Regions from separate parts of the Homo sapiens genome. Here region 1 is linked to region 2. The links are contacts of gene promoters, found by promoter capture Hi-C in blood cells and fetal thymus (Javierre and others, 2016). All regions are on one chromosome and are shown on one strand. Each heading gives the region's core, a stretch centred on a gene start or on the middle of the fragment in contact. The rest is flanking DNA. Distances are from core to core; before and after follow the strand shown. Region 1 has its middle 98 kb from the start of BTC. Region 2 holds the start of EREG (epiregulin).

Region 1 (5,325 bases), core at 2,519-5,018, 330 kb after region 2:
CAGTAACAGACATTTATCCCCAGTGTAATCTAAGAGCAGAAGGTGTAATTAATTCTGCAGGGGGCAGAATTTGGAGAGGAGGTGTCAGGTAAAGCTTCCTTGTAAACATTGGTTTCTTTTGCAGAAAAATCCAGGGCTCTTTATTTCTGCCTGATATGAAACTCTTGACGAATTGTCCTCACCTTTTATATATCCAGCTTATGTCTTGTTTTGTTAATTCCCATATACACCAGGCTACTTACCTTCCCGATTTAATAGATAAGCACCATGAATGTTCTCAACCCATCAAGGCTCAGCTTATTTAACCATTACCCCCTTCCCAGGACTATTCCTGTGATTAAACCAAATGTGAGCATTAGTAAATACTCCTACATTGTATTTAAAGACGTATCCCAGTGTCAGGGATGCACATGGCTGCCAAGCACTTCACCCTGTGAGAATTGCCTTTTTTAACATATAAACAAAGGAAAAAATATCTCCTTAGTATGTATAATGGAAAGTCCAGTGTCTCCAAAGATTGGAGGGCAAAGGGAGATTATGGTGGTTTTTTGCCATGCATCTCCTGCCAAATTTTTTACCTCCACCTCTGGTATCCCAGGTCTTGTTCACCCTGGCCCTTTCCCTCACTGTGCCCATTCACAGTGGACATTTCCCTGCTTCTTAAACTTCCTAAAATAGTCACCCAAAGTGTGACTACAAAAGGAAGTTATATCTCAGTGCAGCAAGGCAATCAGCCTAAAATCCACATTAATTCTCCTGGTTCTTAAAATTTTCTCCTGCATTCCCACAACTAGAAACAACTCCTCCTCCTCCTCTTTCTCTTCCTTCATGTTTCACTGTTTCCTAAGGGTCTGATGCTTGTGCTATTCTGGGGCCTTTTAAAAGACAAACAAGTACAAAATTATAAATATAATATTAGATACAGGGCCTTGGGAGGGGCTCATGCAAATGAGGTGCCCCAAAGCCTAGACTTCATTAGCTTTATTAGCTCCTTGTTCATTTCTCTATTTCTCTTTCACTATCTTCCTTCCTTTCATGGCTGCCAGCCACCTCAACACTTCAATTTGCAGTGTTTTTCTTATAAGAACATCAAGTTTCACAACCCGAAGATGTTAGAATGTATTTTGCTAAATAAAATAATGTTTTCTCCCAATATTTTAAAGCCTATAGCTTTTAAATGAGCATGCTTTATTTCCATTATACTTAGCATTAAGAATTCTAAGCTCTGGATTCTTCTCTCCATCTTAGAAGACCACAGTTCTTCATTATGTATACCCATCACCATCGCCCCAGCTAAGTCAGATCAATTTTATATTTAATCTAGAATACAGCTGCCTTAGATTGAAGGAGACAGGATGTATCACTAGCTGTTATTGGCAGTTTAACAGTTTCTGCTCCTGAGTGCAAATAAATTGACTGACAATAAATGTATGTTCCAGTATTTAGTTGAACAGAAAGGAGAGTTTATAGAAAAGAGGCCTAACCCACTAGATGGGAAATAGAAAAAAAAAAATCAGTTTGAGGTGAGATATCATGACCTAATTAGTCAATTCTAAAACTATTTCTCAATATCCTGTGTTTTGCTTCAGATGGTAGAGGTCACCCATCTTATTTACATATACTCACTACTACCATCCCAGCCAAAGCATATCAATTTTAGATTTCTCTGAGAATACAGGTCTCCTGGACTGGAGCTAACTGTTCCCATATATGGGATCTGTCAATAAGGAAATATGGTAAGGAGAATCCTAGGGAAATCTATATACACAGAGGCAGGTAAATTGCCCCCAGCAAGGCCAGACCTCATAAAATCTTATGAAAGGGGTTCCCTGATCTACACCTTCTTGATAATGATATAATAAACAGCAATAAAAACTCAGTTATAGATTATTAAGAACTTTTATTTCCTGCTAAATATTTTATATAATACTCGCCATTCTTGTACCAATTCTGAGAAGAGAGAAGTTACTATTCTTCATTGTATAGGTAAGGAGACGGCAATTTGGGGAAGTTAAATAAGTCTTCCAAAGTCATATCTCTGATAAGTGAAGAGCACAGAATTCAAATTCTATGTCTGTTTCATCTGAAAACTACATAATACTTTGGTTAAAACATATGAAATTACCATTTTTGTAGATCAAAGGTAGTCAGATATTGGCAATTTCACATGGTACAACCTAACACATTATCAACTCTCAGCTTAAAAAGTCTGTTAAAAGTCTGAGAGATTTTAGATTTGCACAACCCAAATGAGGAGATTTTAGATTTGCACAGCTAATATTCACAACAACCCCAGGGAGCAAACAGATAGCTGAGAGGGACACCACCTGAAGTGGCACAATAGACTATGTAAATTGCAGAGCCGGAGTCAACTTCCTTAATTCTTTAGGACAGGCTTCAGAAGACCTGTCCTGTAAAGAGCCAGATAGGCAATATTTTCAGCCTAAAGGCCATACTGCCTCTGGCACACTACCCAACCCTGCAGCTATAGCATGCAAACAGCCATAGACTACATAAACAGATGGGTATGGGCATGTTCCAATTCAGCTTTCTTTACAAAAATAGTCCAACTCCTAATCTAATGATTTCCCTGGATTTTCTTAGAGAGATTATAGCAAGAGAATTATCACTCAGTCTAATACAGAAAAACCTACTGGATGCAGAGGGCTTACACACAAAGGGAGACAAGATAGCTTAGTTTTAATGGTCTTGGCTCTGGGATCAGACTGCTGAGCTTTGAATTTCAGCTCAGACACTTGTCTGCTGTGTGACTTTGAGTAAGCACTTCAACTAAACCTCAATATTCTTATCTGTACAATGGAATATTAATATCCACTCCATAGAGTTATGAGAATGAAAGAACTTATACAATGCCTGAGTGCAATGCCTGGTATATGGAAAACACTCAGTAAAATTTATTGGGTGTTAAAAGGGACTTTCCCAGGGGTCTTGGCATTTTTTGGCTAAACTCCTGCAGTTAAGGACATTAGTGATAAGGACCTACACTCTTTGAAGAGATCACTCTTTACAATTTGCATGCAGGATATTAGAAAAAAGCCATCCCAGTATTGTGAACATCACTCTTTCTAGGCTCTATGAGAGGAAAATTGACATTCAAAATGGGGGCCGCAAAAAGGGAATTGATAGAGGGAGCATCAGGGGGATGTGAGTGGCAGTTTTCTTTCCTCTCCCTAAGTCATGTAAAGAAAGCCATGTAAGGGAAGACTTCCCTTACAAGGACCCCTGTTAGAGAATCTCCAGAACCTCTGTTAGAGATGGAAGAAGAGATGAGCACCTCATTCCTATTTACCAAACCGCAGAAATGCAAGTCCAGGCGCTTTCACTAAAGAGGAGAAAAACATGCTGAGAGAGCTAAAGAGGAAAAACATCACATAGATCCCCATGAATGTAAGAATTACAAGAACATAGAGACTGATATCTGTCTCCCACATGAAGAATGCAAAAGGCAGAAGAAATGCTGCGGTGGTAGAGAAGAGCAGAGCAACAATAAAGTGGCCAACAGTTGGGTCAGTTATACGCCCACCATTTAGTGGTGAAATATGCGTGAACTTCTTCCTGCCAGTTAAGTGATGGCACAGAAAATAGTTAAGCATAAGCTGTTGAAGTAGATCTAATTCAAACATGTCACTTCTAGAATGAGTGAGGTGCACTAGGGTTTCAGAGGGTACATCTGTGAAGGGAAGTTCACAATAGACCAGCTGTTTGTGCACTGCCTCCCTCAAAGGTAACAGAAGACACCAACTATCCTATCGCCACAGCTCCAGGCAGATACAACTCTATACCTCTTCCTTTAATTTTTCCTTTCTCTTCCCTAAACTTCAACTTCCTCGTTCCTGAAGCCAGCAACAGGAAAGTGTATGGGTGAAGGAATAATGAAAAACAGGCATGGTCCCTCTTTCCACAGCAGCCTCCAGGCCAAAAGTCAGGACAGAAATTACCGGGGAGGAGGAAGATTTTTAATTGCATGTGACATTGAAATATTAACTGTACTGCACTTTTTAATGCCTTTGGTGAAATTTAGAGTCAACAAAAATGACTGCTATTTAAGAGCTGAAGCCAATAGGTATGTGGGGCTCTGCCTAAAATGTCATCTAAGGTATGGAAGGGAGATAAGAAACAGAATGTTGGAGGGAAGTCGTGGGAGAAAACTTAAATCATTTTCTTCTTGTGAGCCTACTGATTTCAGGTTGCATTTTCTCTTATTAAAACCAGACCTGTGCATGTACATGAAAGAGGAGAGCAAGATTTGTAGAAAAAGTAGGGGGTGGATATTTTAGCCAGGGCATGGCCATGATATGGGGTATATCTGGAGGCAAAGAAAGAAGTGTGAGTTTGGGCAAGAAGATTATTTCCAAATGAAAGACATGAGGTGCCCCAATAGAGACTGTTTTCCTCCTTGCCTTAAGGTAATAATGACTTTTATCTCAGGAAGAGAAGGATGGGCATAGGAGCCTGCCACCAGACACAAGTCTTTGGCTATGATTTTTCACACATGGAATTAATCCAGAGAAAATAGACAAGAAAGCTAAATTTTTAAAGAAACTGTAGTGACAGAGGAATCCCAGCCCTGGCTAATGGTAACCTTGTGAGTGCTTAATCCATAAAGCGGGATTAGGGTCCTTAAACTTGTACCACTGGGAAGGACCTGAAAAAGATGTGCAGGCTCCCAGAAAGTCGTCTTGCCTGTGTTCATGGAGGACAATGAACAATGAGGAATCTCACTGTGGCAGAACTAGGAACTGCCAGTTTGGTTAACCAAGAAGTGCAGTCTTTTCCAAGTCCGGTGGTCCCTACAATTCTTTTTTTTTTTTTTTTTTTTTTGACAGAGTTTTGCTCTTGTCACCCAGGCTGCAATGCAATGGTGCGATCTCAGCTCACTGCAACCTGCGCATCCCAGGTTCAAGTGATTCTCCTGCCTTAGCCTCCCAAGTAGCTGGGATTACAAGTGTCTGCCACCATGGCCAGCTAATTTTTATATTTTTAGTAGAGACAGGGTTTCGCTGTGTTGGCCAGGCTGGTCTTGAACTCCTGACCTCAGGTGATATACCCGCCTGGGCCTCCCAAAGTGCTGGGATTACAGGCATGAGCCACTGGGCCTGGCCTATCCCTGCAATTTTTAACAAACAAGATTTGCTATTTTTTACAGATAGAAACTGCTTTTTGTTTGCCATTATCACATTTTTTATATGAAAATTCTTTCTCCATCATTGTATGTTGTACACATTGAAGACAGATAATTAACTTTTGACTTATGAGTCACTAGAACGTAAGCTACACTCAGATTTGACAAATAGGACAGCATAT
Region 2 (5,358 bases), core at 207-2,706:
ACTGTGTTATCCAGGATGGTCTCGATCTCCTGACCTCGTGATCCGCTCGTCTCGGCCTCCCAAAGTGCTGGGATTACAGGCGTGAGCCACCGCGCCCGGCCGAAGTATTTGTTTCTAACAAGAGCATTCTGGACATTAAAGGGCCTTAGAGTATGAGAGAAAAAAGCCAGAAAAAAAAAAGGAATAGTAATAATAATTTTTTAAAAAGTAGAAATAAAAAGGTAAGGAGTTAACATCCATTAGATTCCATTTTCTATTCAAATATGTATATTTACATACAGTACTGCTGAATTGACTCACAGTTCTTAGGTCCTATAGAGGAGTGCAGTGAAAAGGAAGACAATTTACACAGTACAGAGCTGAACATAGGACTTACAAACAAAAAAAAAGTCAAGGAATACAAAGTAGCTTTCCCAGGTGTAAAGTACCGGGTCTAGAATTCTATGAGGCTAGGGAGAAGATAAACGACAAAAGCTATAAGAGATCAGAATGAAAAGAGATCCACAAGCCTAAGAAGCCCAGGCCCTTGAGGAGAACCATGAATTTGAGCAGGATTTCACTAATTCCTTTAAAAAGTAGCCATTGCCTCAAAGTACGACTCCATCAGCATAGGCAGGAAAGTGGGAGTGAGGAAAGGCTTAGAGTTTTCCAGCCTGGCTGGGGTCAGACAATTTGCCTGGGGAAATAGTGGGAGCTGAGGTTGAAAAGACCGATTGGCTTCACGTTTGTGGCAGGCCTTGTCCAAAAAGCAATAGGAAGTCGTTGAAAGGTTTTGTGCAGGGGAGCGACAGGATTAAGGCACTACTTAGTAGGAAGTCATATCAAAAGCAGCAACCTGACAAATGGCAAATACGACAGAAGGAAAAAAAATAACAGGAATTTTCTTCACAATGACTCGACTTTGAGGTAATAAATGCCTGAGCCACATTGGAAGCAGGGGTCTCAGAAGGAAGGCGCAGATGGGAAAGGCTTTTCTGGGCGGTGGCGTTTCAATGCAAGGAGGGCGCTTGAATCACTGACAGACTTCAAGTTAAGGGAGTTTTCGTGGCTGAGGTTAGTAAGTCACACGCACAGCTCTCCAAAGGCATGTATGGGGAACGCCAGCCTTGGCTAAAAGACTGATTCAAGTTATGTCCGTCACCCTGAGCAACCAAAACCACCCACTACAGGGCAGGTGACCCCACAAAGCAAACCAAGCCATCTGGTCCACGCTCCCCACCTCCCGGAGGGAGATGGAAAAGTTTCGGGAGTAGTCCCCGGCCAATCGGAAAGACATTTTTTCATTCCTCAACCACTACTCTCAGGTGCTCCAGGGAGGGAGGATGACTTCCTGACGGTCCTCCTGCCGCTCCTCCCTCGGGCCAATTATGAAACTCTGGGCACTCTTGACCTCACCCCGTTAGGGCCCGGGAGGGGCTCCCTAGTATAAAGTTCGCAGCACCAGACAGTTGAGCTCACTTGCCTGATATTTCCAGTGTCAGAGGGACACAGCCAACGTGGGGTCCCTTCTAGGCTGACAGCCGCTCTCCAGCCACTGCCGCGAGCCCGTCTGCTCCCGCCCTGCCCGTGCACTCTCCGCAGCCGCCCTCCGCCAAGCCCCAGCGCCCGCTCCCATCGCCGATGACCGCGGGGAGGAGGATGGAGATGCTCTGTGCCGGCAGGGTCCCTGCGCTGCTGCTCTGCCTGGGTAAGTTCTCCCCCTCTGGCTTCCGGCCGCCCCAAAGAGGAGACAAATAAGGAAGGCTCCTGTGCATTTGTCATTCGACAAGTACGGAGTTGTCTCCAGGTTCAAGTGTGCTCTATTTAAAATTACGTCTTGTTTTGTGAGTCTGTCTTCCCCTATGGTGGGACTGGGGTGGGGGGGACTGGGGATCGATGTTAAAATGCTTTTTATTGGTGAATTAATTATTGGCATATATGTTATGCATGGATTGAAATATCTCCTTATTAAACAAAATAAAAAGTTGTTGAAAAAGCTTTTTTTTTTTTTTTGAAAAGTTGCCAGTCCTAGAAATCTAAAGGCCTGGAACGCACTGTTAACATTTCATGTCTTGTTCCTTTTTGTTGGAGAGTGGGGAATAGAAACTAGCGTAAGAAATTTTTTGGAGGGGGGAAAAAGCTTTTCTCCTCTGTCTTGCGCTCAGTTTTCTAAAACCTAGCCTGGTTTAGCTTTCCCGGAGGAGCTGGTATGCGCCAGTGCCAGTTGGCTGAGCTCCAGACACAAGAGAAATAAAACACTGGTCGAGGGTATCTGGAGCAGAAGGGCCCTGGGCAGGTCCTGGCGCTCCCCACCGCCCTTCGCCCCTACACCTGCTGCTTGCGTTTTTCCCTGCAGCCTCCCAAGCAGCCTCTGGAGCAAGCGTTCTGCACTTGCTGCTAATTGCACTCCATAGCCTGTGATCGCTGAGGGTATTTAAATGCCAGTCTTCCTATTTGAGATGATTTAGTTCAAGGGGAAAAATTTTCTAAATAGCCTTTCTGTTAAAAAAAAATTACTTCTTTCCAATTCCTTAAACTTCAGTTTAAGGAATTTGAAAGAGTTTGAAGTCGTATATGAATATCTTAATAAAAAAATAAAAGTTACCACCAGTCTCATATTCTCCCTGGAGTTGGAATGAGGCTGATTCCCCAGACACTCTAACTCTACCTGTGAAGGATGTGACTGTTAAATTATTATTTTGGCACACCTTATCTCAGGGGTTGAGAGACCTAATGAAATGCATACTATGCATAATTGAAACTTACAAGTCTAAGTCCAGGAACACAAGTGGAAACTAGATATGTGGTTTCTGCCAAAACTGAGCTAAGAAAGACTTGCTAGAAGATTCTCAGTAAACAATGTGGCTTTGCTGTCTTTGTTTTGAAAAGAATTAAATTAGAAAGGTGACAGTCTTCCTAGAGTTAGAAATTAACCTCGAGGTCAGAATAACTTAGCACTTATTATTTTCCCCACATGTAAGGTTGCATCTGAACAATGCACATGTCTGTTCTGGGTGTTTCATTGAATATTCTAATTTGAGACAGCCAGAGCCTGTGAATAACCTGGTTACTACCCACTAGTGTGTGTGTTGTGTGTGTGTTTGTTGTCATGAAAGTGCTTACCTCCTTCATTGCATTACTTAATTATAGTTCATCTATTTCGTCAGCTGCCAAGCCCATTTCCAAATGAGTTAGGTCAGTTTCTGTTTTCCCAGTTTGTTTGGATATTTCTCTGCCACTAGGAAAGTTCCTGTTTCAAGTTCTGTATTATATCTCTAAACTCTATTCAGTTATGCAGAGCCCATAGCCTTATTTTGGCAAGACCACCTGTTATTTCTGAAATTGCCTTCTTTCCCCCAAACAAAATATTTCCTAAAAATACTTTTCCCAAATCTTGTCCTTCCCCCAGCAAAAAAGAGCGAGACATTTATTTTAAATTTTAGCATACATGTTATAACTGCTTTATGTAGTTATGACTAGGGAATAAAGTTCCAGCCTCCACCCTTAACACATACAGATTTAAATTGCTATGCACAATCATTTGGTTACTTTTAAATTTTACACTTGTTTAATATTGAGGCTCTTGTTTTATAAATTGGGGAACTGTGACCCAAGTTCACATAGAAAAATAGTGACAAAGTGAGAGTCCACACTTGGGCTTGCTAGCATTTTTGGCCTACTGAACATTAAGTAGAAGAGTTGAAATACCGGATAACATTTTTTTAAATAATCTATAATTTTAGAGCAGAATTTTGTCTTTTTTATCTTGTGATTTTTCTAAAGAGAGGAGGATAAATTTTTATGTTGAATTCTGCAGTTATGTTCAGGGGCTTTCTATTTAACATCAAACATTTTTATTCATGCCTACATGGGTTTTTGAATATGTTCCTGAATGACATCTCCAAGATAATTTAGTCGTACTTCATCAATGAGAGAGAATTAAGCAGAAGAAATATTCTTTTTTGAAAATATGAGGAGCATAAATCTCAATGAGACAATAGGCTTGTCTTTGATCATTTCTGTTGACTCTGAGAGTTTATGAGTTACCTGAGTCTTGGCACAACCTGAGATGACAAATCTTGTCAGAAAACGTGATGACAGGCCTTTCCTGTCTGGATTTTGACCAGGTACCCTCACCACCTTCTGCACAGTCTTGCCATGTGAGCAGCTTGGGTAATTGGGGTGTCTGATTCAGCACTAAGACCCAAATCCAGGAGTTGAGAAGAAAACTAACAGTTACTAAATGCCTACTGTGTGGCAGCCATGTTGTGTATTAGGTGCTTTAAATACATCATCACCTCTACTTCTTAAAATAACTGTGTGAGGTAGATTTGATTAGCCCAGTGAAGTCAAGTACCTTACAAAGACTCAGAGATAGTAAATGGCCAGGTCACTCTGTGATAATGAGGAAAGAGCCAATGAGATTCAGGGTTAGCAGGAGCATAATAAACATAGCAGATTCTAATAGAGAAGTTCCAGAGTAGCTGGGGCTGCTCCAGGGTTCAGACCCTCTCATAGGCACAGCACATGTACAAATGGACTTTCTGACTCTGTGCAAAATCAGGCAAATAAAAGGTGACTATTCTCTTAAGCTGTGCTAAAATATGTTGAATTTTTACTTAATGTTCATAATTTCTAATCAACACAGTTCCCCTAAGATATGATTTTTATTATGAAGCAGTCATTGAAGTCAGTTGACTGGGGCCCTTATTTTTATATTTTCCAAGGTTTACATTAAGTAAAGCAATAAAGAGGGTAACTTATGTCTGTTTTATTCCTTGTATTCTTTGTATATTATTGTGAATTGGATATAGCATTGATAAGGGATCAACTTGGGATCTATAGCCCATTCCTGTTAACTGTGAGAACGTAAATGTATTTCCTTGGTTTAAAAAAAATAACAATACTCATATAATCACTTCGGAGAAACTGAATTTGAATGTTTTCTGTCTATTTTTGCAAAAGAATCTCCCATTTCCTGGTTAATGTTCACGTGAAAGATGCAAATGTCAAGTAAGAAATCCTCTTCAAAGAGAATGTAAATTAAGGTGGGGTTTCCTCATCTGTCAATCTTTACTTTGAGTGTAGGCCTGTACAAATCGTCTAATTAATATGGCTGTAACTGCTGCTGGGAACATTCCATCGGGAGACAATGAGAACACTTCCCAGTGGTGTAATAGAAGAGATCCTCAGGGAGGAGTAGTCTGACAGCCATTGCCTTGACATGGCAATTCTGGAACCTTTGAAAAAATGAAGTAATGCCACATACTCAGCGTCTTCTGGAGATGCAGTTTACCTAAGACTGGGTGTTTAGTTATAGGGCACATAAAGGTTGAGTGGCCTTCTAGGTTAAAGTAATGATTTAACTTACTAGGATAC

The links. The method cuts DNA at HindIII sites, captures the fragments that hold promoters and counts their contacts. A CHiCAGO score of 5 or more calls a contact.
Region 1: a fragment that was not itself captured here is called in contact with the fragment with the promoter of EREG in region 2 in 4 of 17 cell types (activated CD4 T cells, non-activated CD4 T cells, naive CD4 T cells and 1 more); the score reaches 7.2 in activated CD4 T cells.

The regions. Positions count from the first base shown.
Region 1 is chr4:74,693,837-74,699,161 of GRCh38, forward strand. No RefSeq gene overlaps it. Among named protein-coding and RNA genes, the nearest start is that of BTC, 98 kb to the right of the region's middle. The HindIII fragment of the contact is 7,353 bases long and covers 93-5,325 here.
Region 2 is chr4:74,363,689-74,369,046 of GRCh38, forward strand. It overlaps EREG (epiregulin), which reads left to right and starts at 1,457. Exons shown (of 5, transcript NM_001432.3): 1 at 1,457-1,687. The coding sequence starts at 1,621. It overlaps LOC105377276 (a long non-coding RNA gene), which reads right to left and starts at 1,653. Exons shown (of 3, transcript NR_188415.1): 1 at 1,463-1,653. The HindIII fragment of the contact is 3,301 bases long and covers 1-1,974 here.